Linked DNA regions of Homo sapiens: all the other regions are linked to region 3. Evidence: promoter capture Hi-C in 16 types of primary human blood cells and fetal thymus (Javierre and others, 2016). All regions are on one chromosome and are shown on one strand. Each heading gives the region's core, a stretch centred on a gene start or on the middle of the fragment in contact. The rest is flanking DNA. Distances are from core to core; before and after follow the strand shown. Region 1 has its middle 220 kb from the start of ZPLD1. Region 2 overlaps ABI3BP (ABI family member 3 binding protein). Region 3 holds the start of RPL24 (ribosomal protein L24). Region 4 overlaps TFG (trafficking from ER to golgi regulator).

What was found. Contacts are between HindIII fragments. The CHiCAGO score rates a contact against its expected background, and 5 or more counts as called.
Region 1: a contact is called between a fragment that was not itself captured here and the fragment with the promoter of RPL24 in region 3, in 4 of 17 cell types (non-activated CD4 T cells, total CD4 T cells, total B cells and 1 more). The highest score is 7.6, in non-activated CD4 T cells.
Region 2: a fragment that was not itself captured here is called in contact with the fragment with the promoter of RPL24 in region 3 in 1 of 17 cell types (endothelial precursors); the score reaches 5.6 in endothelial precursors.
Region 4: a fragment that was not itself captured here is called in contact with the fragment with the promoter of RPL24 in region 3 in 3 of 17 cell types (neutrophils, naive CD8 T cells and fetal thymus); the score reaches 6.8 in neutrophils.

The regions. Positions count from the first base shown.
Region 1 is chr3:102,215,519-102,220,432 of GRCh38, reverse strand. No RefSeq gene overlaps it. Among named protein-coding and RNA genes, the nearest start is that of ZPLD1, 220 kb to the left of the region's middle. The HindIII fragment of the contact is 6,610 bases long and covers 1-4,914 here.
Region 2 is chr3:100,893,238-100,898,223 of GRCh38, reverse strand. All of the region lies in intron 4 of ABI3BP (ABI family member 3 binding protein), which reads left to right. Among named protein-coding and RNA genes, the nearest start is that of ABI3BP, 98 kb to the left of the region's middle. The HindIII fragment of the contact is 2,710 bases long and covers 335-3,044 here.
Region 3 is chr3:101,684,096-101,689,469 of GRCh38, reverse strand. It overlaps RPL24 (ribosomal protein L24), which reads left to right and starts at 2,752. Exons shown (of 6, transcript NM_000986.4): 1 at 2,752-2,798; 2 at 2,913-2,988; 3 at 3,542-3,652. The coding sequence starts at 2,794. LOC124906262 (endogenous retrovirus group K member 5 Gag polyprotein) reads right to left here. Exons shown (of 3, transcript XM_047449415.1): 2 at 2,081-4,575. The coding sequence starts at 2,091. RefSeq lists enhancers at 992-1,545, 2,456-2,505, 2,516-3,005, 1,976-3,175, 3,166-3,355 and 2 more. The HindIII fragment of the contact is 5,611 bases long and covers 1-3,481 here.
Region 4 is chr3:100,714,912-100,720,510 of GRCh38, reverse strand. TFG (trafficking from ER to golgi regulator) reads right to left here. Exons shown (of 8, transcript NM_006070.6): 3 at 453-536. Among named protein-coding and RNA genes, the nearest start is that of TFG, 8.2 kb to the right of the region's middle. The HindIII fragment of the contact is 5,880 bases long and covers 1,169-5,599 here.

The sequences.
Region 1 (4,914 bases), core at 1,141-3,640, 530 kb before region 3:
GGGATCTAATTAAACTAAAGAGCTTCTGCACAGCAAAAGAAACTACCATCAGAGTCAACAGGCAACCTACAGAATGGGAGAAAATTTTTGCAATCTATCCATCTGACAAAGGGCTAACATCCAGAATCTTCAAGGAACTTAAACAAATTTACAAGAAAAAAACAAACAATCTCATCAAAAAGTGGGCAAAGGATATGAACAGACGCTTTTCAAAAGAAGACATTTATGCAGCCAACAAACATGAAAAAAAACTCATTATCACTGGTTATTAGAGAAATGCAAATCAAAACCACAATGAGATACCTTCTCACGCCAGTTAGAATGGAGATTATTAACAAGTCAGGAAACAACAAATGCTGGAGAGGATGTGGAGAAATAGGAACGATTTTACACTGTTGGTGGGAGTGTAAATTAGTTCAACCATTATGGAAGACAGTGTGATGATTCCTCAAGGATCTAGAACCAGAAATACCATTTGACCCAGCAATACCATTACTGGGTATATACCCAAAGGATTATAAATCATTCTGCTATAAAGACACATGCATACATATGTTTATTGCAGCACTATTCACAATAGCAAAGACTTTGAACGAACCCAAATGCCCATCAACGATAGACTGGATTAAGAAAATGTGGCACATATACACCATGGAATACTATGCAGCCATAAAAAAGAATGACTTCATGTCCTTTGCAGGGACATGGATGAAGCTGGAAACCATCATTCTCAGCAAACTAACAGCACAGAAACAGAAAAACAAACACTGTATGTTCTCATTCATAAGTGGGAGTTGAACAATGAGAACACATGGACACAGGAAGGGGAACATCATTCACTGAGGCCTGTCGGGGGTTGGGGGGCAAGGGGAGGGAGAGCATTAGGACAAATACCTAATGCAGACAGGGCTTAAAACTTAGATGACAAGTTGATGGGTGCGGCAAACCACCATGGCCCATGTATACCTATGTAACAAACCTACATGTTCTGCACATGTATCCCAGAATTTAAAGTATAATTTTAAAAAGAAAGAAAAAAGAAGCTGGCAAAGAAGTAAAAAAAATAAATATTATCTATGATATATATATTTCCAAATCTATGTCTCTAAACCACAACCCCTTTTTTGAGTTACAGGCTTATTCATCCAAATGTTAACATGTTGTTTCCGTCTTGATATTTCCACAGCTGAATGCTTTATCTTCTCACCCAAATCTACCTCTACAGTCGTCCTCATTTAAGTATACGACCCCCCTAGAAAATTGTTTCACCTTCAAATTCCTCTCTCTTTTCTCCACCATTAAACCAATCAAACAGAAACTAGTGTAGAATCTATCCTCAAAATGTATCTTGAGCCCATTGCTTCTATATTCAAAAATATAAATAAAATTATAAACAATGAGAAAAAAATTGAACATTAAATATTTAATAATATTGGAAATTTATTGTTAATTTTGTATGTAGTCAGTATTACAATCATTTTTAAAGATATGCACTGAACCATATAGATAAAATTATATGTTGTCTAGAAATTGATTTAAAATAATCTGAAGTATAGGTAAGTAGGGAGGCATAGATGAAATAAGATATGCCATACAGTGATAATTATTGAAGCTGGAAGATAAGCACATCAGGTTCATTATGTTCTATTTTTGTCTATGTGTATAAAATTTCATAATAAAGTTATACATAAATTTTTAAATGGGTTGCCTCAAACAATGTAAGGAAACAAGATAATGTTATACTTTATAGATGTATTTCAATAAGTTCTTTGTCAGCCATATGATGTGGTAAAAACAACGGCCATTTACCCTGACATTAATTGCATAAAATGATTCAAAATTATCAAGAAGACTCTATGAAATATAGTTTATATCCACTATCTTTAAAGATTAGTCTTTCTCTAAGTAGATTTTGTACTTTAAAATATTAATGATCATTTTAAAGCCATCAAAATTACTAAGGCATAAATCACCATACAGAATTATGAAGACAAATATCAACAGGTTTTTTTAATAGTGGTTCAAAGTATCATGCAATAACTAACCCAGGACTTCACAATATTTCATTAAATATGTAATAAATATTTAATCTCCTACCTAAGGATTAAAGAAAAACTATATACCATTGGGAAACATTGTTCTTTCTACAGTAAATGCATCTGGAAAATAAAACACCTGGGAAATAAAACAGGTACAAATTATAATGCATTCTTTTGTTAGAAAATACTATTGGAAGACACAAAAACCTTGAGGATTTAAAGAAATAAATATTACCTGGTGTGGGAAGTTTGTTATACAATTGGATAAAAGTATATCTGTTTTTCAGCTTATGATATATTCTAGTATTCTAGACTTTTTCCAATGATTTTATATATATATAAATATAAATAAATATATATAAAACACTAACTTTATTGAGAATAACAAAAAGTATATTCAATGATCTTTTCTACTTATAAATTATTTCTCTAATGTATGTATAAAAATTTTAAACTACTTGTTGATGGAGTAACAGCTTTGACTATAATAAGAAAGAATAATAATTTCCAGAGTAAGTTGTAGAGAGAGCAAATCACATGAAATTTTGGCACTCCATTGTTCAAAGACAAAGCAGATGAAAATACAGCAAAGCAGGTGAAAAAGAAGTGCACAGAGTGCTACCAAATGTCATTGATGTAACTGATTTTACAAAAACAAGATCTTTTTTTTTTTATTAAAGTTTTAGGGTACATGTGCACATTGTGCAGGTTAGTTACATATGTATACATGTGCCATGCTGGTGCGCTGCTCCCACCAACTCGTCATCCAGCATTAGGTATATCTCCCAATACTATCCCTCCCCCCTCCCCCCCACCCCACAACAGTCCCCAGAGTGTGATATTCCCCTTCCTGTGTCCATGTGATTTCATTGTTCAGTTCCCACCCATGAGTGAGAATATGCAGTGTTTGGTTTTTTGTTCTTGCAATAGTTTACTGAGAATGATGACTTCCAATTTCATCCATGTCCCTACAAAGGACATGAACTCATCCTTTTTTATGGCTGCATAGTATTCCATGGTGTATATGTGCCACATCTTCTTCATCCAGTCTATCATTGTTGGACATTTGGGTTGGTTCCAAGCCTTTGCTATTGTGAACAATGCCACAACAAACATACGTGTGCATGTGTCTTTATAGCAGCATGATTTATAGTCCTTTGGGTATATACCCAGTAATGGGATGGCTGGGTCAAATGGTACTTCCAGTTCTAGATCCCTGAGGAATCGCCACACTGACTTCCACAAGGGTTGAACTAGTTTACAGTCCCACCAACAGTGTAAAAGTGTTCCTATTTCTCCACATCCTCTCCAGCACCTGTTGTTTCCTGACTTTTTAATGATTGCTATTCCAACTGGTGTGAGATGGTATCTCATTGTGGTTTTGATTTGCATTTCTCTGATGGCCAGTGATGATGAGCATTTTTTCATGTGTTTTTTGGCTGCATAAATGTCTTCTTTTGAGAAGTGTCTGTTCATGTCCTTCGCCCACTTTTTGATGAGGTTGTTTGTTTTTTTCTTGTAAATTTGTTTGAGTTCATTGTAGATTCTGGATATTAGCCCTTTGTCAGATGAGTAGGTTGCAAAATTTTCTCCCATTTTGTAGGTTGCCTGTTGACTCTGATGGTAGTTTCTTTTGCTGTGCAGAAGGTCTTTAGTTTAATTAGATCCCATTTGTCAATTTTGGCTTTTGTTGCCATTGCTTTTGGTGTTTTAGACATGAAGTCCTTGCCCATGCCTATGTCCTGAATGGTAAAGCCTAGGTTTTCTTCTAGGGTTTTTATGGTTTTAGGTCTAACGTTTAAGTCTTTAATCCATCTTGAATTGATTTTTGTATAAGGTGTAAGGAAGGGATCCAGTTTCAGCTTTCTACATATGGCTAGCCAGTTTTCCCAGCACCATTTATTAAACAGGGAATCCTTTCCCCATTGCTTGTTTTTCTCAGGTTTGTCAAAGATCAGATAGTTGTAGATATGCGGCATTATTTCTGAGGGCTCTGTTCTGTTCCATTGATCTATATCTCTGTTTTGGTACCAGTACCATACTGTTTTGGTTACTGTAGCCTTGTAGTATAGTTTGAAGTCAGGTAGTGTGATGCCTCCAGCTTTGTTCTTTTGGCTTAGGATTGACTTGGTGATGCAGGCTCTTTTTTGGTTCCATATGAACTTTAAAGTAGTTTTTTCCAATTCTGTGAAGAAAGGCATCGGTAGCTTGATGGGGATGGCATTGAATCTGTAAATTACCTTGGGCAGTATGGCCATTTTCATGATATTGATTCTTCCTACCCATGAGCATGGAATGTTCTTCCATTTGTTTGCATCCTCTTTTATTTCCTTGAGCAGTGGTTTGTAGTTCTCCTTGAAGAGGTCCTTCACATCCCTTGTAAGTTGGATTCCTAGGTATTTTATTCTCTTTGAAGCAATTGTGAATGGGAGTTCACTCATGATTTGGCTCTCTGTTTGTCTGTTGTTTGTGTATAAGAATGCTTGTGATTTTTGTACATTGATTTTGTATCCTGAGACTTTGCTGAAGTTGCTTATCAGCTTAAGGAGATTTTGGGCTGAGATGATGGGGTTTTCTAGATATACAATCATGTCATCTGCAAACAGGGACAATTTGACTTCCTCTTTTCCTAATTGAATACCCTGTATTTCCTTCTCCTGCCTAATTGCCCTGGCCAGAACTTCCAACACTATGTTGAATAGGAGTGGTGAGAGAGGGCATCCCTGTCTTGTGCCAGTTTTCAAAGGGAATGCTTCCAGTTTTTGCCCATTGAGTATGATATTGGCTGTGGGTTTGTCATAGATAGCTCTTATTATTTTGAGATACGTCCCATCAATACCTAATTTATTGAGAGTTTTTAGCATGAAGGGTTGTT
Region 2 (4,986 bases), core at 440-2,939, 790 kb after region 3:
TGAAGTTTGAGAATCACTGGCTTAGAAAACTGAGGAGAGACACACAGGCAGAGATATAAGCAGAGGAAAAGCAAGTTGGAAATGAAGCTACCATTTTCTTTGGAAGAACAAATGGGAAAAATCTAAGTATATTTTTAAACTACTGCTATTTATCCATCCAACCATTTGATGCATGTATTTAGATGCATTGGATGGATATGTACTAGGCCCTGTGCTACATGCTGAACCATACTTCTAGGTTGGTTATAAAATGATGTTTGCTTATAAATATTTACTATATTAGCTTCAAAACTCAGAAACTTGCATCTAGAAAAGCATTCAAAATTTTCAAGCTTCAATCAAGGCATTTTATTTTTAAAGTTTTCTATTTTAAATACATTCAAAGTGATTTTTACATTTCAGAAGTTTTCTTATTCCTTTTTGAATAAAAAACATTTATTGAGGTATAATTTAAACACAGTAAAATGCATAAATATTAGTGTACAGTTTGAGTTATGACAAATGCCTATAACCATGTATCCAATACCCATCAGGAAACAGAAAAATTTTATCACTCTAGAAAGTACTTTCCTCCAGAAACAACCATTGATTTGATTTCTATCACCATAGATTAGTTTTGCCTACTCTAGAATTCCATATAAATGGAGTCATATAGTATGGGTTTTCTGACTGTCTTCTTTCGCTGAGCATTGAGATTCATTCATGACATTGCGGATATCAATAATTCATTCTTTTTTGTACTCCTGAGTGATAGTCTATTATGTGAATATTCAAAAGTTTATTCTCTTGCTAATGAGCACCTGAATTATGTTGTTTTTTTTTATGTATATGAATACAGACTGTATAAACATTTTCGCATAAAATTTTGGTGGACATTTTAATTTCTCTTAAACATAAGTGGAATTTCTGAGTTATAGGAAGATGTATATTACGTATATTTGATTATTTTTTGCCTAATTTTTCCATCTACATTCCCACAAGCAATGTAGGAGAGCTCTGATTGCTCCACATTCTAAAGCAGCATTTTGTGTTGTCAGCATCTTTCATTTTAGCCATTCTAGTGTAGTAGTTTTTCATTACAGTTTTGATATGTATTTCCCTTACACTAAGGCTATTGCATACTTCTTAATGTGCTTTTTGGCCATGTTTATGTTTTTTGTAGTGTTTTATTTATTTTTATTTGTCCAAATCAAACTAAAATGAAGGAATTTTTAAAGTGTTTATAAGTTCTCAAAATCACCTTTCATCTGACGTTGGGAAATCTAGACTCAAGAAAAAAATCAAATTTCCCTTCATATGCCCATGGTTCTCAAGGGATGAATACTTGGAAAAACATGTAGAAGATATTTCCAAAACCCAATTTTTTGAAAAATAATTTTGAAATGCTTCAAAGAATCTGAAATACTTTTTATTTCACCCACCACTAATCCCATGACTTATTTTGTTTGGAAAATGGACTCAAAAGAACATGCCTCCTTGTGATAATTCCGGTTCCTAATGGATTGGTCTGGGGTACTAATGCTGAGAAAATAAACACTTATGGATTGCTCTTTTTCTTTTTAAAAATTATCTTGATAAAGTTATGGAGAGAGAAAGGGAGAAGAGAGGAAGGAAGAAAGGAAATTTTGTAGTCTTACAGCAAAATGCAACCCAATTTTAAGGGTTACTCAACTTGCTTGATGAATCTGTAGGACTACTTGTTTCAATAGGTTTAGTAACCTGGCAAACTTGTGTAGCATAATTTGGAGTAATTTCTTCCTCCCGCTCTCAAGCCTCTCCTCCAATTTCACTTTGTCCTACTGACACTTCTGTAAAAGAATCTATCTGATGACCGATTCTAATTGATAGATGTTGCCATGGTTTGACAGCACCCGGAGATAATGAATATAGAGAAAGTTAGGACAGATGACCTAATGGAGCTAGGATTCTAACCCAGGCTGTTGACTCTAAGGCCCAAGCTATTCAGACCATGCATGGATCTCACCCTCACCCTCACCCCCTTGCACACGCACCCTGGCTCTACTCTTATCAAATAGATGGAATTAGGCACATCACATCACAATATTCAAAATCGATAATTTCATTTTGAATAAAGTCTTTTGAAAGATACAATAATGACAAGCAAGATATTCTTGACCAAAGTAGGGAACCATTAGGACATGAGTTGAAGGGAAGAATTAAACAGTAATGACTAAAAAGGAGTATTTGGAGTACTAGTAAATTTCATTTCCCCATGCTTCCTTTCTCCCTAATTAGCATAGTTAATAAACCGACATTTAAAGTCTTTGTGATGTTTGAGGAAAAAAATAATAGCCCCGATTTAAAAGCCTGGAAATACTGTACATATTAGAAGCATCCAAATAAATCTGCCAGAACTACAAATTAGTGTAATTAGAAGCAGACTAGACTTGGAGAAATCTACCCTCATATGTTCATGCATAATTTTTTTATAATTTAGACTAATCCAGTAGGTTAGCATAAGCAATAATAGCTAAAAATGATGGTTATATTCTGAAAATTGGAAGATTAATACAGCTAAAGTTTTACTTCAGGAGTATCTTTTTACAAAACCATTGCAATCTGAATGCACTTGGCTTGCTACAGGAACACCAATTGGTATCATTTTAATTCATTGATATTTGGTTCCCTCTGTACAGTCTCTGATTTTTTAAAAAAATGATTTACATTGGTTTGTGTAGCCTCATTTATCCTGTGCAAATAACAGTGAAATTTGTTTTTATATTTTGACTATGGACTTTGTATATCAAAGCTCTTAGGTAGTAAGTTTCCAGTTAGAAAACCCTCATTGTTTTTGTTTTGTTTTTAGCTTGGAAGTATCAATGAAATATCACTTTATCCTTTGTGGCGCATGTTTCTGTACCTATTTGCATAGGGTCTTTATGGGTCTCCCATGCTTTAAGATTCCTTTCTAAGTTCACATCGGAGAGCAGATGTGCTTCATTTACAGTTTTTATTCTTAATGGGCTTTGAATGGAAGAGTGTACCCATTTGTCTTCAATAGAGCCTCAATTTGAAAGAAAGCTTTCAAATTGGCCCTGATGAAGAGTCAACTGTTTTTAACCCAAATTTATTTCACCATTAATAGCTTATTTTTTCTTTCTCATGTTTCCAACTTGTTAAAGATTTCAAGATTGCTTTAGTTCTCACTCTTTTGCCAGCGTATTAAAGCTTTATGAATAGTTTAGAAATCACTTTCGCATTTTCTAACATTCTCATCTTGTGTTTTTTTTTTCTGTTTTTTTTTTTTTTTTTTTTTTTTTTTTTGAAGCGGAATCCCGCTCTGTCGCCCAGGCTGGAGTGCAGAGGCGCGATCTCGGCTCACTGTAAGCTCCGCCTGCCGGGTTCACGCCATTCTCCTGCCTCAGCCTCCCGAGTAGCTGGGACTACAGGCACCGGCCACCATGCCTAGCTAATTTTTTGTATTTTTAGTACAGGTGGGGTTTCACCGTGTTAGCCAGGATGTTCTTGATCTCCTGACCTCGTGATCTGCCCTCCTTGGCCTCCCAAAGTGCTGGGATTACAGGCGTGAGCCACCGCGCCCGGCCGTGTTTACTTACTCTTAACGTAGAATGAGGGCTCTCCTTTTTGGCCAGTCCAGAGCAGACTCTCTTGCCTTTTTTCCGCCCCCAAGTTTGTAAGAAGCGAGTATCTTCAGTGTCTGAATTCTCACCTGATTGACCCCAGTGCCTTGTTACCTGTCTGTCTTGCCGTGTAAGTTTTAAGCTCGGTGAAGACAGGGAGTATCTTGCCCACCGTTACTTCCTGGTCCCCCGAAGAGCATCAGGAACATAGGAGGCCCCAAGTAAATACATGCTGAATGAAATAACCAGTGAGATATCAACATTCTCACTTTTATGTGTTACCATTACCTCAAACTCAACATGACAAGATTAAACTCAGACTTTTTCTCTTGAAATATCACCTCACTTGTCTCTGTATTGCTTTCTAAAGTAGTATCATTGTCCCATTGGCTCTAATTTAAAACTTCATTTATTTTCTATTTTTCACCTACTATCGTTTATGAAGGCCCGAAGATACATTCGTTTTTCTTTTGAGATGTACCCATATCTGCATCTGTGTCTTCTCCTTGTCCATTTCACACTAATGTTCCCAATCCAAGCATGCCTCACCTTACCCTGGATTCTGGCAACAGCATCCTGGCTACATTCCCTGCTATTTTCTTCCCCCAATCTATTCTACCTTCCACAGTACTGAGGAAATCTAGACTATCCTTTATCAACTCACTCTTTCCTCATCCTGAATTTATCTTTACCTCTCTTCTCTTCTTTCCAAGAAACACAATTCTGACTTCAGACAGTGCTCATGATCCCATCTTTCCCATGTCGTCTAAGCCTTTGCTTCTCCAGTGATCCCCTCTCTCTTCCATTTGCCCTTTCACAGGCAGTGGTGCCCTGCCTCCTGCTGGCAAGCATGCTCAAAGTTTCTCTCCCTGAAAACAAAGCCTTCTGTTGATCCTGTTATGTATTCTAAGCTACTTTTCAGTCTCTTTTAATTTCCAAACTTTTCAGAGTTATGGCTCCCACATTCTGAATTCTGCACCATCTGCACAGTCCTCATCCCTTCTCACTAGTTGCCATCCCTTTTCCACTGTTCCACTGAAATGTCTCTTGGTGGTCACTAATGACCAATTAGTTACTAAACCCAGTAGAGTTTTCTCAGTCCTTATCCTTCTTAACCTATTCTTAAACTCTTTCTTTCTTTGACATTTTTATTTAGATTTTCCTCTTGCCCCTTTAACCATTTGTATTAGGGTTTCCTAGAGGGACAGGATTAATAGGAGAGATGTATATACATGAAGGGGAGTTTGTTAAGGAGTATTGACTCACAGAATCACAAGTTGAGGTTTCATAACAGGCCGTCTGCAAGCTGAGGAACAAGGAAGCCAGTCCGCGTCCCAAAACCTCAAAAGTAGGGAAGCTGACAATGCAGCTTTCAGTCTGTGGC
Region 3 (5,374 bases), core at 1,503-4,002:
CAGGGACAGAGGCTGAAAAGGGCACCAAGTTTGGTTCAGTATTGCTCCATAAATGAATAAAAAGAGAATAGAGTGTAGCTGAACCTTTTGCCTATGATAAAAGCAAAAGCATGGATAAAGTCAGCAATAATTTACGGATGGTGTCAGAAGCTCTACTTTATGACACTGTATAATATAAATTCATTTAGAGGTCTCTCTCTGCAAAATTTCTCCCTATTCTAAGAGCATTTTGAGCACAATTTGTTTGTTATGGGAGTGTGTTACAAGGAACCCTGACAAGAAGGCCCTCCAGTAAAGAGTGAAATACAGCCAAAATCCCTAAGGTCCAGTTTCCTGCATTTCTTCCACAGAACCAGTCAGGCCAAACGTAATTTTAAAGAACAATAAAACAAAATCTTTCTAAAATATTGGGAAGGGACTATAAATTCTGAGGTTCTGTGGAACAAAAAAGGACTGCATTCCTTCAGGTGGATCTTGGTTCCACCGGCTACCTAAACTCAGCTGTGCCTTGGATCTTGTAGAAGCCAGGACTATTTCTGAAAGATGTTTTGTTTTGGTTTTTTGTTGTTGTTGTTTGTTTGTTTTCACACGGAGTCTCGCTCTGTCGCCCAGGCTGGAGTGCAGTGGTGCGATCTTGGCTCTCTGCAACCTCCGCTTCCCGGGTTCAAGCGATTTTCCTGCCTCAGCCTCCCGAGTAGGTGGGACTACAGGCGCGCACCACCACACCAGGCTAATTTTTTTTTTTTTTTGTAGAGGCGGGGTTTCATCGTGTTACCCAGGCTGGTCTCAAACTCCTGACCTCGTGATCCGCCCGCCTCGGCATTCCACAGTGCCGGGATTACAGACGTGAGCCGCTGCACCCGGCCTCCTTTTTTTTTTTTTTTTTGATATGGAGTTTTGCTCTTCTTGCCCAGGCTGGAGTGTAGTGGCGCGATCTTGGCTAAATGCAACCTCTGCCTCCCGGGTTCAAGCGATTCTCCTCCCGCAGCCTCCCGAGGAGCTGGGATTACAGGCGTGCGCCACCACGCCCAGCTAATTTTTGTATTTTTAGTAGAGAAGGGGTTTCACCATTTTGACCAGGCTGGGCTGGAACTCCTAACCTCAGGTGATCCGCCCACCTCGGCCTCCCAAAGTGCCGTAATTACAGGCATGAGCCGCCATGACTGGCCACCTAACATCATTCTTAAGACTGGTTCCAGGCCCGGCGCGGTGGCTCACGCCTGTAATCCTAGCACTTTGGGAGAACGAGTGGATCACCTGAGGTCAAGAGTTTGGGACCAGCCTGGACAACATGGTGAAACCCCATCTCTACTAAAAATACAAAAATTAGCCGAGCGTGGTGGCAGGCGCCTGTAATCCCAGCTACTCGGGAGGCTGAGGCAGGAGAATCAATCGTTTGAACCCAGAGGGCGGAGGTTGCAGTGAGCCGAGACCGCGCCACTTCACTCCAGCCTGAATGAAAGAGCGAAACTCCGTCTCAAGGAAAAAAAAAAAAAAAAAAGACTGGCTCCAACACAATTGTACAGTTTTCATGACATTAGTCAGCCAACTTGTTAGACATTCCAAATATCTTCAACCAGCTACCTTACAAAACGTTTTTAGGGTGAGTTGCATACATAGAAAGCAGAACTCAGTCATTACATTTGTTTCCTAGTCATATACTGCAACCTCCCACAGAATTCAAGAATTGCCTCTGGCCACTCCTTGTCATACGATGAAATATGTAGCATCATAGAAGGGCTCAACAGATTGAGCCCTTGGCCTCCCAGCGGGGCTCCACCGACCCCCTCAACTTCACTAGGCAGCAACTCCGAATTGTAGTTCTTAGGCAGGTACTTAATAGGAATTTTGGAAACTGAATGAGCTCATGTTTAAAAAGCCTTTGGCATAATTCCCGGCACAGAGAAAGCGCTCAAAGAATGTTAATTATAATTAATGCAAAGCGCCAACGCGCACTGTTCGATTCGCACAGCCTGAGAAACGGTTCGGTTGTCATTACTTTCTTATAAATGGTGAAACTATTAATTTGTTTGGTTGAGGAAATGGGCCAACAGGGAAGGCAAAATGTGACTGGTTTTACCTGCGGGGCATTCGTCTTTGGGTCTCTTTATGAGAAGAGAGGACACCTTTCTCTTCAGTTCACATTCCCTGCAGCCGGAAGATGGCTCTAGGATACTTGGCAGTAAGAGAGGCAGAATGGGCCGGGCGCAGTGGCTCCCGCCTATAATCCCAACACTTTGGGAGGCCGAGGAGGGCGGACCACCTGAGGTCAGGAGTTCGAGACCAGCCTGACCAACATGGAGAAACCCCGTCTCTACGAAAAATACAAAATTAGCCGGACGTGGTGGCACATGCCTGTAATCCCAGCTACTAGGGAGGCTGAGGCAGGAGAATCGCTTGAACCTGGGAGGCGGAGGTTACGGTGAGCCGAGATTGCGCCACTGCACTCCAGCCTGGGCAACAAGAGCGAAACTCCGTCTCAAAAAAAAAAAAGAGAGGAGAGACAGAGACAGAATGACTCATAAACCAACTGTCTGACTGCCTTTTTGGCAGGCCCTCTGGGCCCGAGAACCCTCCAGCGCCTCTGGATGAATTGCGCCAGAGGAAGTCAGCTGTCAGGGAAAACGAGATCTTTCGCCTCGCGATGATTACGTCATCAAGGAGGGCCAGGAGCATCGAAGGATATTGGGGAGGAGATTTCCGGCCCCCATCCCCGCAGCGACCTTATAAGGTCTCTTCCCATGATTCTCTCTTTCTTTTCGCCATCTTTTGTCTTTCCGTGGAGCTGTCGCCATGAAGTAAGCACGACCCGTGGTTCCCAATCCGCTTACATCCTCGGGCAGAACTCCTCTCTGTCGTCCCTGGCATGGCTGTAGACACCCTCCCTGATGGACTTTCACTTTTTGTTGCAGGGTCGAGCTGTGCAGTTTTAGCGGGTACAAGATCTACCCCGGACACGGGAGGCGCTACGCCAGGACCGACGGGAAGGTAAAAAGCCGCGTCGGCTTCACCTACCTTCTTGTACTCCGAGGAGGAAAGGCTGGTTTAATTCGGTTTAGGCGGGTTTATTCCCCACATCACCACTGGCCTCTGGAAGTCTTCGTGGACGCTCTGTGGACTGGTCGTTAGGACCAGAAACCTCTAAGTGAACCAGTGTTGATTATTTATTGTGAGCCAGGTCGGACATCAGGAGGGGTTTATGTAACTGATGTCCCGGTGTAAGGGAAATAACTGAGGTACGGAGGTACCCTTTGGAATCCTGGGACGGACAAGAGCAGAATGCTTCCCAGAAGGACGCACCACCCTGTCCTTTGCTATGAGCCTAGATTTCCTGCTCTCGAGAAAAGACTAAACGCAAGGACCTTCATAGTGTGACACAGTTACCTGCCAGTTATGTGACAGCCTTTTGGTCCTTGTGGGCCTCAGTTTTGTAAAATGATAAGCCAGAACTAGCATATTGATCTTCTAAGGATTCCAAGCTTACTCAGCCTCTTGTACTTTGTATAGTTAAATAGTAATTCCTTTGCATTTGTCACTCTAGGTTTTCCAGTTTCTTAATGCGAAATGCGAGTCGGCTTTCCTTTCCAAGAGGAATCCTCGGCAGATAAACTGGACTGTCCTCTACAGAAGGAAGCACAAAAAGGGACAGTCGGTAAGTGGAATACGCCTTGATGTTGGGGGCTATCTCTTAAGTTGTCAAAGCTCTCTGAACGTTGGTTTTCTGCTCTGTAAAATTAAATCAGACTGTATGCGAAAGAGCTCTTAAACTGTAAAGCGTCAGCAAAATGAAAAAGATATTATAAACTGTCTCTATATATTTTAGGCTAGTAGCAATACCGAGTTGAAATTTTAAAGTCAGATAAATTACGTTAAGCACCTTTGCGTTATAGGGCAGGGTGGAAGGGCTTAGTTTTCCAGTGGGAGGAAATTGAGAAGTTACCATAATTTGGTTTTGATTGCAATATTTACAGGATTAGTCCTAACATAGCCAGTGGACCATGAACCAGTCCACCATACACTAGTTCATTCACTAGAAAAACAGTGGTTTTTCTGGTCCTTGTTAAGTGTCCTTTTAGCTGGGTTATACATGAGAAAAAGTTTGAGTGCCATGGTAGGACTAGTATTCAGGAGGCTTGGGAATACTTACTGAACACCTTCTGGATGAAGGACTTTTCTAGGTATTGTGAGAAATAAATGCCATCAGACATAAAATATGTTGAAAGTTCAGAGGAAGGAGAAACTTAAAAGTGGATATGACACACCTATTAGGGTGACTATTCAGGAAAAAAAAAAACAGGAATTACAGGTGTTGGTGAGGATGGGGAGAAATTGGAACCTTTGTGCATTGCTAAATATGCAACAGCTGTGAAAAATCATTTGGTGTTTTCTCAAAAGGGTAAACATAAAAATTATCCCAGCAGTTCCACTTCTAAGTTATACCCTAAAACAGTTGAAAGCAGGGACTCTATAACTTGTATATCAGTGTCATAGCAAATCCGGGCTTGGTGGCAGCGGCTGTACTCTAGCTCCTCCGGAGGCCAAGGTGGGAGGATTGTTTGAGGCAACATAGGAGACCTTTAAAAAAAAAAAAAGTTATTTAGATGGATAATGGTGATAGCTACACAGCGCTATGAATGTACATAAGGCCACTATACCTTTTTTTTTTTTTTTTTTTTTTTTTTTTTTTTTTTTTGGGGAGACAGGTCCTCTGTTGCTCAGGCTGGAGAGCAGTGGCAGGATCACAGCTCACTCCACCTCAACCTTATGGGCTCAAGTGATCCTCCCACCTCCGCCTACCCCGTGGTCCACAGGCACATGCCACCATGGCCCAGCTATTTTTTAAATATATTTTGAGGAGACAGAAATCTTTGCGATGTTGCCCAATTTCGTCTCAGATTCTTGGGCTCAAGTAATCCTCCTGCCTTGGCCACCCAAAGTACTGGCATTACAGGCGCGAGCCATCCTGCATAGCTAAATTATAATTTAAAAAGTTAAAATGAGGCTGGGCATGGTGGCTTACATGCCTGTAATCCCAGCACTTTGGGAGGCCAAAACGAGTGGATCACCAGGTCAGGAGTTCAAGAACAGCCTGGCCCACAGAGTGAAACCCTGTCTCTACTAAAAATACAAAAAAAAATTAGCCGGACATGGTGGCAGGTGCCTGTAGTCCCAGCTACTTGGGAGGCTGAGGCAGGAGAATAGCTTGAACCCAGGAAGTGGGGGGTTGCAGTGAGCTGGGATTGTGCCACTGCACTCCACCCTGGGTGACAGGGTGAGGCTCCATTTAAAAAAAAAAAAAAAAGTTAAAATGGGCCTAGTGCAGTGCCTCACGCCTGTAATTCCAGCACTTTGGGAGGCCCAGGCAAGAGGATCC
Region 4 (5,599 bases), core at 2,859-5,358, 970 kb after region 3:
CCTGCCCCCTTCCATAGAAGAACTGTCTTACACGAAACCAGTTTCCAGTGCAAAAAGGTTGGCGACTACTGGTTTCAAGTATCAGACTTACATGTTAAGCCCTGATAATAAGTAACAACATACTGTAATGTGAAGGAAGATAATTACAATTTAAAAATTCTAATACAGCTAAATTAAAACTATAATACTGCACCAGGGATACCTAAGTTATACCTGATTTCAAAAAAAACATACTTAACACTCTGTTCTTACTGAATTAAACTTCTATCATTTTCTTAAAAACATACACAGCCATAAGCTTCAAGTAATCTAAAACAACTACCTGAACACAAATAAATGTAATAATATTTGAATAAGTTATTGCTTACCTGAGTCTTTAAAAGGAAAAAAGCCAAACATCTTTAAAATACAATGAATAAAATAGTAAATTCATTAGAAAGTTTACTACTCACCAAATAATGTCAGTTTCAGTATCCTACTGCACTGAATTGCAAAGGAAAGGTCAGAACTATCAAAAATTGTTATAAGATCTCCATCTGGAATTTAAAAAAAAAAAAGGTTGTTTTTTAATTTTTTAAATTTTCAGATTTGTATAAGCAGTAAACTAGTAAAAATTAAAAATCCAAAATGTAGATTGTAGAACATAGTTGGACTCTCCCATAGAAACCTTAAACTTTAAAGGTCTAGCAAAAATGCATTTGTTCAAAAATATACTAAATCAATTTTGCTTATTACTCTTATGGCAAGGTATTTACACATATCCACATGAAAAAATACAGCTAAAGTGAATCCATTAAGTGCCTTAATATTTATTAGTCACTAGTAAGAGATTCATAGAGAGCAATATCATAAATTGTTGGTTTAGACTGAAATCTTTTCATTCCAAAAAATTTACATCTTTTACCAAGAAATAAAAAAGTTTCCCAAAGTTCAAATCTTAATCATAGGTAGAGTAAAACACTACTGTTGCAAAACTGCTTTAATGAATGGATAGACAGTAAATTCTTTCAGGTCACTGACCATTTTGATATTAAGATGAAAACAATCAACTCTCCCCAGAAAAATATTTATATATTCAAAACAGTGTGTATTTATGACCGTGAAATCCCCCAGATCTCAGGGATAAAGAATGCTATAATTGGCATACCAACTGTGTGTCTCAAAAGCTTTCAAAGGGCTAAGGGAAAAATACATTCTCTAAAGAAAGCAAGAACAGAAAAGCAGCCAGAGACAAGGAGTTCATCAGGGACCTCTGCAGGGTGTCTTCACAAACAGTTGGGTGGGGAGGAGTTCTGTCCTGGGGAGGCCACAAGACTACTTCTGGGATGCTCTGCTGCACCTACTTTAACACTAATTAGTTGGATTTATTTTGGGCAAAGATGACAAAACTGAGAATTTTATAACTGTTTTTAGCTCCTTATAGCCAGACCCACTTCCCATAACATACTTGTTTAATGTTCAATTTTCATAAACACATTTTTTAAAGAAAATAAAGTATGTATGTAAAAGAAGAAAACTTCCTGTTCTTTTTTTCTTTTCTGAATCCTACAACAGAAACAGAGTATCTCTGATGGCAGGAACTTTACCTAAGCCATCCCTCCACTCTACTAACAGAATCTAACGGACACAAATCAAAACAATCAAAAACTTTTTGGCCAAGTGCGGTGGCTCACACCTGTAATCCCAGCAGTTTGGGAGGCTGAGGTGGGCGGATCACCTGAGGTCAGGAGTTCGAGACCAGCCTGGCCAACATGGAGAAACTCCGTCTCTACTAAAAATACAAAAATCAGCCGAGTGTGGTGGTGTGTGCCTATAATTCCAGCTACTTGGGAGGCCGAGGCAGGAGAATCACTTGAACCTGGGATGTGGAGGCTGCAGTGAGCCAAGATCACCCCACTGTACTCCAGCCTAAACGACAAAGCAAGACTTTGTCTCAAAAAAAAAAAAAAAAAAAAAAAAAACCATGAAATACAAAGTTGTAACTAAATGTGGAAGACAAACTACAACGAGGACACCTCAAGCTAAGGGTCCATGAACTGTGACCAACGGACAAAATCCCTGTGTTGTTATAGGTCTGTGAATGAAAAATGGTTTTTACATTGTAAAAAAAAGATGAGACAGAGGCCTTATGTGACCCACAAAGCTACAATATTTATTCTCTCTGATCTATTAAAGAAAATGTTTGCTGACCTTTGCCCTAAACAGTAGTTAAGAGAAAGCCAGTCAATGAGGTCAGTTTGAGATAAAGGCAAAGCATCTTCAAGTGGGAAAAAAGGCAGTTAAAGGCCAGGCACACTGGCTCATGCCTGTAATCTCAGTACTTTGGCAGGCCAAGGCAGGAGGATCGCTTGAGCCCAGGAGTTCAGGACCAGCCTGGGCAACACAGTGAGACCCCCATTTTGATAAACATTAAGAATAAGAAGCTGAGTGCAGTGGCACATGCCTGCAGTCCCAGCTACACGGGAGGCTGAGTTGCAAGGACTGCTTGAGCCCAGGAGTTCAAGGCTTCAATGAGCCATGATCACACCACTGCGCTCCAGCTTGGGAGACAGAGCAAGACCCTGTCTCAAGACAAAAAAATAAAAAATAAAAAAAAGACAGTTAAGCAAGTACTAGCCAGAGCAATTATGCAAGAGAAAAAAATAAAAGGTATCCAAATTGGGAAGGAAGCAAACTGTCCCTGTTTGCAGATGACATAATCTTATATAAACAAAAACCTAAAAACTCTACCAAAACCCTTAGAACCAATAAATGAATTCAATAAAGCTGCCAGAAACAAAATAAGTACACAAAAATAAGTAGTGTTTCTATACACATACAATAAAAAATAAAAAATGCAATCCCATTAACCACAGCTACAAAAATTTTTTTAAATATCTAGGAAGCAGTTTAACCAAGAAGATGAAAAACCTCTACAAAAAAAAAAAAAAACACTGATGAAAGAAACCAAAGAGCATACATATGTAATGACATCCCATGCTTATATAAGAACAAATATTGTTAAAATGACAAAATTACTCAAAGCAATTTACAGATTCAATTCAATCCCTATCAAACTACCAATAAAATTATTCATAAAAATTTAAAAACAAACCATAAAATTTGTACAGAACTACATACAACCCCAGACAGTCAAAGCAATACTGAGCAAAGAACAAAGCTGAAGGTGTCACACTTACTGACCTCAAAATATACTACAAAGCTGTAATAAGCATGGACTGGCACAAAAACGGACCCACAGACCAACAGAACTGACATAAAAACAGACCCATTGACCAAGAGAACAAACACATAGATCAATAGAACACATAGAACAAAAGAACATAATCCATGTTATCTATAGCCAACTGACTTTTGACAAGACCACTCATTAGGAAAAGGATAACCTCTTTAATAGGTCGGGAAAAGATTTCATGAATAAGACCTCAAAAGTGCAGTCAATAAAAGCAAAAATAAATATGATTATCTCAAACTGGAAAACTTTTCTGCACAGCAAAGGAAACAATCAAGAGTGAAAAGAGAACTTACAGAATGGGAGGAAATACAACTACTCATCTGGCAGAGGATGAATATTCAGAATATAGAAGGAACTCAAACATCTCAACAGCTAAAAAACAATCAATCCGATTTTAAAATCGGCAAATGATCTGAACAGACATTTCTCAAAAAAAGACATAGAAATGGTCAATAAATATATGAAAAAATGCTCAAAATCACAAATCATCAGGGAAATGCACACATATCAGGAAAATGAAGACCACAACAAGGTTCACCCCAGTTAGGATGGTTATTATCAAAAAGATAAATAACAAATGCTGGCAAGAATGAAGAGAAAAGGGAACTCTTACACATTATTGGTAGGAATGTCAACAGTACAGCCACTAGGGAGAACAGTATGAAGGTTCCTCAAAAAACTATAAATCGAACTAACACACAATTCAGCGATGCCACTACTGAATATTTAACTAAAGGAAAGGAAACCAGTATATTGAAGAGAAATCTGCACTCACATTTTACTGCAGCACTATTCACAATAGTCAAGATATGGAATCAACCTAAGTGTCTAACAACAGATTAACTGATAAAGAAAATATGGTATATATACACAATGGAATACAATTCAGCCATAAAAAAGAATGAAGTCCTGTCATTCACAGCAACATGGATGGAACTGGAAGACATTAAGTTAAAAAGATACCACATGCTCTCTCTCATATGTGGAAGCTAAAAAAAGTTGATCTTATACAAGTAAAAAGCAGAACAGATGACAGTAGAGGCTGCAAAGGGTAGGGGAAAAGAGGGATAGGGAGAGATTTATTAAAAGACACAAAAGTACAACTAGATAGAAGTAGTTCCAGTGTTCTATAGCACTATAGGATGACTACAGTTAACAATAACATATTATATAATTTCAAATAGCTAGAAGGAGAATATTGAATGTTTCTAACCCAAAGAAATAAATATTTGAGGTGATGGATATGCGAATTACCCTGATCTAATCCCATTATATGTAATGAAACATTACTATGTACCCCATAAATATGTACAATTATTATTTGTCAATTAAAACAAAATTTAAAAAAAAAAGTACTCTTGGGACTTTGCTAAAAAAAAAAAAAAGTTAAAAATCTGAATTGTAGGCTGGGCATGGTGGCTTATGCCTTTGGGAGGCCGGGTTGGCAGTATTGCCTGGGGACAGGAGTTAAAGGTTATGATGAGCTATAATCATGCCACTGCACTGTAGCCTGGATGAGAGTGAGACCCTGTCTCAAAAAAAAAAAAAATTCACTGATCAAATTAAGACACACATTTCAAAGTCACAGAGGTGCAAATCAATGTATGATAAGCATAAGAAAACAGGAAAAAAGTACTATCCTTTATTGTTTCTTAACATGGGCAACTCTCAAAAATTTGTTTTGGGTATTCTTAGACTACACATCACAAAAACAAAGGAGAATTATACCTTTAGCTAGATGGTCAATTTAACTGATCACCAGTGATTTACACTTCTCCTCCACAGTATAAGTTGTGCTAAGTGGCTGCTCAGCCAGGGACTATACTTCCCAACCCATTTGCATCTTAGCAAAGCCATGTAACTGGGTACTGACCAATGTCATAAGGGCAGAAATGACATACAACACCATCAGGCCTAGTGAGTAAAATCTCCCATATGATTCTTCATACTCTGTCTTCACTCATCTGCTTGCCAATGTCAATGCCTATGGTGAGCTTATAAGCCATGTGTTGAAGGTAACAGCTTCTTTCAACCTGGATCCCTGAAAGATTTCTCAACTATTAAACCACTCAGATTTTAAGATTTCTATTATATCTGCTGGCATTACTTTAAGCCCAACCCTAACACAGACAGAGAAAAAACTGTTAGTGATAAGAAAACTAGGTTAAGCAGTGTCAGAGATGTTAAGAGGTAAAAGTATTTAAAAACAAGGATGGTGTGGGTAGCAGTGCTAAACAGTGAGGTCAAGATTAAATACACTGCAAGTAAGTTCCACAGTAAAAAACACTGGTAACCACCTAAAGAGAAAATTTCAGCAGAGATATTAACAAAGAAGGCAGGTTGAAGAATAGGAAATACAGTCTA